Linked DNA regions of Homo sapiens: region 1 is linked to region 2. The links are contacts of gene promoters, found by promoter capture Hi-C in blood cells and fetal thymus (Javierre and others, 2016). All regions are on one chromosome and are shown on one strand. Each heading gives the region's core, a stretch centred on a gene start or on the middle of the fragment in contact. The rest is flanking DNA. Distances are from core to core; before and after follow the strand shown. Region 1 overlaps LOC105379129 (a long non-coding RNA gene). Region 2 holds the start of ARL14EPL (ARF like GTPase 14 effector protein like).

What was found. Contacts are between HindIII fragments. The CHiCAGO score rates a contact against its expected background, and 5 or more counts as called.
Region 1: a contact is called between a fragment that was not itself captured here and the fragment with the promoter of ARL14EPL in region 2, in 2 of 17 cell types (monocytes and total B cells). The highest score is 6.9, in monocytes.

What each region holds. Positions count from the first base shown.
Region 1 is chr5:115,310,879-115,313,578 of GRCh38, reverse strand. The region is part of intron 1 of LOC105379129 (a long non-coding RNA gene); the gene reads right to left. Among named protein-coding and RNA genes, the nearest start is that of CCDC112, 16 kb to the right of the region's middle. The HindIII fragment of the contact is 417 bases long and covers 1,044-1,460 here.
Region 2 is chr5:116,031,182-116,034,046 of GRCh38, reverse strand. ARL14EPL (ARF like GTPase 14 effector protein like) reads right to left here and starts at 1,575. Exons shown (of 4, transcript NM_001195581.2): 1 at 1,542-1,575. RefSeq lists an enhancer at 1,931-1,980. The HindIII fragment of the contact is 15,754 bases long and covers 1-2,865 here.

The sequences.
Region 1 (2,700 bases), core at 3-2,502, 720 kb after region 2:
TATAGTATAAAAATTAATGGAATCTGTTTCACATAAGCAAGCAGATTTAGGATTAGAAGCATGTCATAACTTGAAGGCAACCCAAAATTTATTTTTAGGCTACATGAATCTTTCAGAGTTCTTGATTTCAGACAATGAAACTCCCCCTAGGTAGTTTAGGCAGCAAAAGGAATTGTATTAAAGATTTTAAGCAGTTCTTGGAATCTCAGTGAGGGCTACAGAATAAACCATGGCTGCTCTGAGGCTGGGAGCCATATGAAAGTTACACAGATGGTTCCAGGGGGCACTCTATTGCTGCTGTGCCTGGGCACAGACAACCCAGCTTTTGCCCCGAGTGGCGGACACTGGAAACTCTGCCTAGAACCTCTGGCAACATCTCTGGAAGGTAGAGCCTCTCCCTCTATCTGCCATGATGGATTCTGTGAGATGCCTCACTCACTCCAGCATGGAGGTCTCAATAAGATGGGTCTAATTGGCAGAACCTGGACACTAGATCCTCAAATTGAAGATGTCAGGAGAGTTTCTGACTTCATCTTTGAAGAACGAACTCTCAGAAATCAGGAAACTCTCCAAATATAAAATGGGCTCAAAGGTAATGAGTGGCAATGCCCACTTCAAGTAGTATAACCTTAGCTTCCCCTGGGGACCTGGAAAGCCCGGGTCACATCTTCCCGGGGAGTTAATGCCCATGGGCAGACTCTTGACCAGGGGCATATGTAGAATGAAATGGACTGGCAGATAAATTGTTTTCCCTTCCTCTCCCCTGGTGGGCTGCCTTGATATGTAAAGTTCATTTGGCCTTACTGAGCACATCCCATGAGATGCAACATGAACTATACTTGTTGCCAACAAGAGGCTGACTCAAACTTCCCTCATGTTTGCCCCTTTTCCCTCACTTCTGTTTCCCTGGGAATGTAACTCCCAAAACAGATAGCAGCACATAAGCCTTTCCTTTAGGCTCTGGTTTCTACGGGTGCAAAAGCATCTCACTGCAGATGCAAAGTATTCTTATTAGAGCCTTTGCCTGGTCTCTATGACAAGCTTCAATTATTTTTCCTAGAAAACTAGTAATAGAAGCTCATGCCAATTTGTAAGACTGCATTTGCCATAACTGTCGTTCATACTAAAAATTTCTTTTCTACTATCTCTAGTTTTGTCTTGTGTGCAAAGAAAGAATTATTCATTGGGGCTCAGGTTGTGAGAGTGAGGAGTAGATGAATGAACCGGTCAGCTCTCTCAAATTCAGTGAGAGTCTCCTCGCTGCTACATCAAATGGCATCATGCTTTGTTATAGCCATGCTGAATTTCTTCTAGTTCCCTAAACAAACTATTGTATATCATTTCTCCGTGCTCTCTATCTCAGGTTTTCTCTCCTAAGAAGCTGTCTTCCTTTCCACTATTACTACTGCTAATAGTGGAATTAATACAGCTAACTGCGTCTGGTCCTTGAAAACTAAGCTTGGGTGTCACTTCTTTAAGGAAGCCCTGCTGAAGACCCCTTCCCACTACTCTAATTTATACCAAACTGCATATTCCTATAATACCCTGTGCATTGTATTTATTTGAGCCAAACTGGACTTCAGCTATTGGTCTATTGACCTGTCTTCCCTGACAAGATAGCTGCTTGAGAGCAACGACCATGCCTCATTTGGCTTTGTAGCCCTAGCAGCAAGCACTGTAACTGGCACATAATGATCGTCTAATTAAAAGCTGTTTGAATGAATAAATAATGTTTATGGAATAACTGAATTACACCAGTCAGGGTCCCTGTGCCATGTTGTGGCAGTGGCTAAAAAAAAAAATCTATCCAGCCGGGCGCGGTGGCTCACGCCTGTAGTCCCAGCACTTTGGGAGGCCAAGGCGGGTGGATCACGAAGACAGGAGATCGAGGCCATCCTGACTAAGATGGTGAAACCCCGTCTGTACTAAAAAAAATACAAAAAATTAGCCGGGTTTGGTGGCAGGCACCTGTGGTCCCAGCTACTGGGGAGGCTGAGGCAGGAGAATGGTGGAGCTTGCAATGAGCCAAGATCACATCACTGCACGCCAGCCTGGGCAACAGAGCAAGACTCCATCTCAAAATAAATAAATAAATAAATAAATAAATAAATAAATAAATAAATAAATGAATAAATAAAATAAAATAAAATAAAATAAAAAATCTATCCAAGCCCTTCCCTGGATTGAAGAGTGCTTCATCCTTCCACCCACCTGTGAGATACAGTCAATAACTACATTGAGCCATCCCAATTGAAAAATCCTGTAATTTCCCTAGGAAAGATGGCTCAATGTCATGTTTTTGGTTGATTCCTGAGTGAGTGAGGATAATAAAAAAAAATTACTATTGAAAAAAAAATAAGCGAAATGTATATACCTAGGACTTGCCTTAGATGACCAGTGTTTTTGTCATCTCCATCTCACTTCACCAATGGAACAAAAATAGTTATTAAGAAATGACATTTAACTGTTCTCATATTTAGAAGTTATCTGTCCCATATATCTGAAGCTGACCCTCATTCCAAATACTTGTCCAAATATGTCCTAATTTTTAGTTTAGAAAATACATACTCATTTATTTTTTCATGGATCCATCTAAAAAATTCAAATTGATGTCTAAGATGGGCTGCCTCAGGCATAGATATGCAATAGTAAATGGAACAAACATCATCTCTTGTGGAGTTTGCATTTGAATGGGGGAGG
Region 2 (2,865 bases), core at 326-2,825:
AAAATAGTCCACTTTCAGTAGAAACCTGAGAGCAGAGAAGGTGACAGCCTCATCTCATTGCTTGGCATTGTTTGTGAGAGAAAGCAAAGAAAGTGAGGAAGCCTTTATATCGTGCTATTTCTTTTCCATGGCAATCAAAATAATTAAAGCGCAGTTCAGCTGAGGACAGGCAAGTGTTCACATACACACTATTCCCACAAACATATACTCTATTTTAAATACACACACAGCCTTTTTTTCACGAAACAAACTTTTTAGCAAACAAAATAAGTTATAATATACTTTTAAGAATATAGCTTGGGTAGAAAGAGTTTGTACTAAAAAGCCTGCAACTTATTATTTTGAAAATCTTGATCCAAGGATCTACATTTTTAAAATAGAGTAGATAATATCTACCTGTATTTTTCATTTTTTCATTCTGTGCCTCTAAATTCCATTTAGAATTTTGAAGTCATGTTGTACCACCCAAATCAAGATAATTTTATTCATCTAGTTAGATTTTCTTCAGTGAAAAAATTACAGGTGATCTTAATTTATGATGAAGTTATGTCCCCATAAGCCTATAGTAAGTTGAAAATGCATTTAATGCACCAAACATCATAGCTTAGCATAGTCTACCTCAAATGTTCTGAGAACACTTACATTAGCCTCCAGTTGGGCAACATCATCTAACACAAAGCCTATTTTATAATAAAATGTTGAAAATCTCATGTAATTAATGGAATACTACACTAAAAGTGAAAAAAATAGAATAGCTCTGTAGGTACTCAAAGTATGGTTACTATTGAATTTGTATCACTTTTGCACCACTGGAAAGTATGAAAATAGTAACTCAAACCACGGTAAGTCGGGGATTTCCTGTAGTAAAAGGAGGTGGTAATATGTACCTAGCAGAGAGTTGTTATTTCACTTCTACTAGAGTGTAACAATTAAGAATACATAGCTATAGGCCGGGTGTGGGGGCTCACACCTGGAATCCCAGCACTTTGGCAGGCTGAGGCAGGTGGATCACTTGAGCCCAGGAGCTCAAGACCAGCCCAGGCAACATGGTGAAACCCCATCTCAACTAAAAATACAAAAAATTGTCCAGGCATGGTGGTGCACACCTGTAGTCCCAGCTACTCAGGAGGCTGAGGTGGGAGAATCACCTGAGCCCAGGAAGTCGAGGCTGCGGCGAGCGGAGATGGCAGCACTGCACTCCAGCCTGCATTGACAGACTGACACCCTGTTTCAAAAAAACAAAAACAAAAACCACCACAACAAAAAACTCAGAATACACAGCTATGTATCAGGAATTATATGCTACCTTCCAAGGTCCCCAGTGGATGCCTGAAACCATGGATAGTATCCTACTCTATATACACTACGGTTTTTCCTGTACATATGTACTTAAGATAAAGTTAATTTATAAATTAGGCACAGTAAGAAATTAACAACAGTAACTAACAATAAAATAGAACAATTATAACAATACATTGTAATTAAAAATATGCAAATATGGTATCTTTCTCTTTCAAAATATCTTATTGTACTGTACTCACGCTTCTTATGATGATGTAAAATGGTCAAATGGCTACGTGATGGGATGAAGTGAGGGCAATAACACAGGTATTGTGACGTAGATGGAAAATTCCAGAAATAAACAACTCTTAAGTTTCAAACTGTGCACTGTTCTGAGTGGTGCGATGAAATCTCTTGCCCTCCTGCTTCGGCCCACTGGATGGCAATGAGTCACCACGTAGTCACCTTGGCGATTAGAGCAACTGTTGCAGTATTGCAGTGCTTGTGTTCAAGTGACCCTTATTGTACTTAATAGTGGCCCCAAAACACAGGGTAGTGATGTAATATTTTTGAACTATAGTTGACCCCGAGTAACTGAAACTGTGGAAAATGAAACTGCAGCTAAGGGAAGACTACTTTACTATACATCTAGACGTGTACTGATTATACAAAATGGTAAAATATTATTAGCTATAACTGTAACATGGACTAAGTCAAGTTGTTAGCATAATAATTTCAAGTTACATGATTCACCCATGTATATGTAAAAGTCTTCCCAAAAGGCTTAGTGAAATTGTAAGATTTAATATTTTTAGAAGTATAAACACTACAGACTTTTATATAAAAGTTTCAAACAAGTTTTATTTAAAAGTGTAATGACTTACATTTATTTTTCATTTATATAGCTTTGTTAATTTAGAGTAACACATTTTAAAATTTTTAGTTTTTAGTTCCTCTGGTTGAAGATGGGAAGCGTTGACTGAAACAAGAAATTAAGTCTTTTCGGACAACTTGAATTTCCAACTTGGGCATAATTATTAAAATGCTTAGTAGATAACTTCAGGATTGTGGCTGTGGCCATTACCAAATTTGAAAGAAAAAAGTGACTTGAAATGAAAGTGCATTGCAGTTCCAGTAACAAATAGATGATAAACTTTATTTATCTTAAGTTTAATTTATTCAGAAACTTACAGAAAAGCTGGAGTTACTATAAAAATATTTTTTTTCCTGAATCAATAGGTTACTGCTTCACTCCTTCATGTATATTTCTTACAACCAAAATATTTTCTACATAAATACAACAAGCCATCAAAGTTGAGAAATTAACAATGATAGCATCTAATCTTCAGACTCCACCCAAGTTTTGCCAATTGTCCCAGTAATGTTAGTCTTTTATGGCGAAAGGAACCAGTTCAGGACCACACACTACATTCAGTTGTCATGTCTCTAAGCTCCTTCAGTCTAGAACAGATCCTCTGTCTTTCCTTGACTTTCATGACCTTGAGACTTGGATATTATTTTTGTGACATGTCCCTCAGTTTGTTTTTTCTTCATTATTAGATTCATGTTATGCAGTTTTGTTAG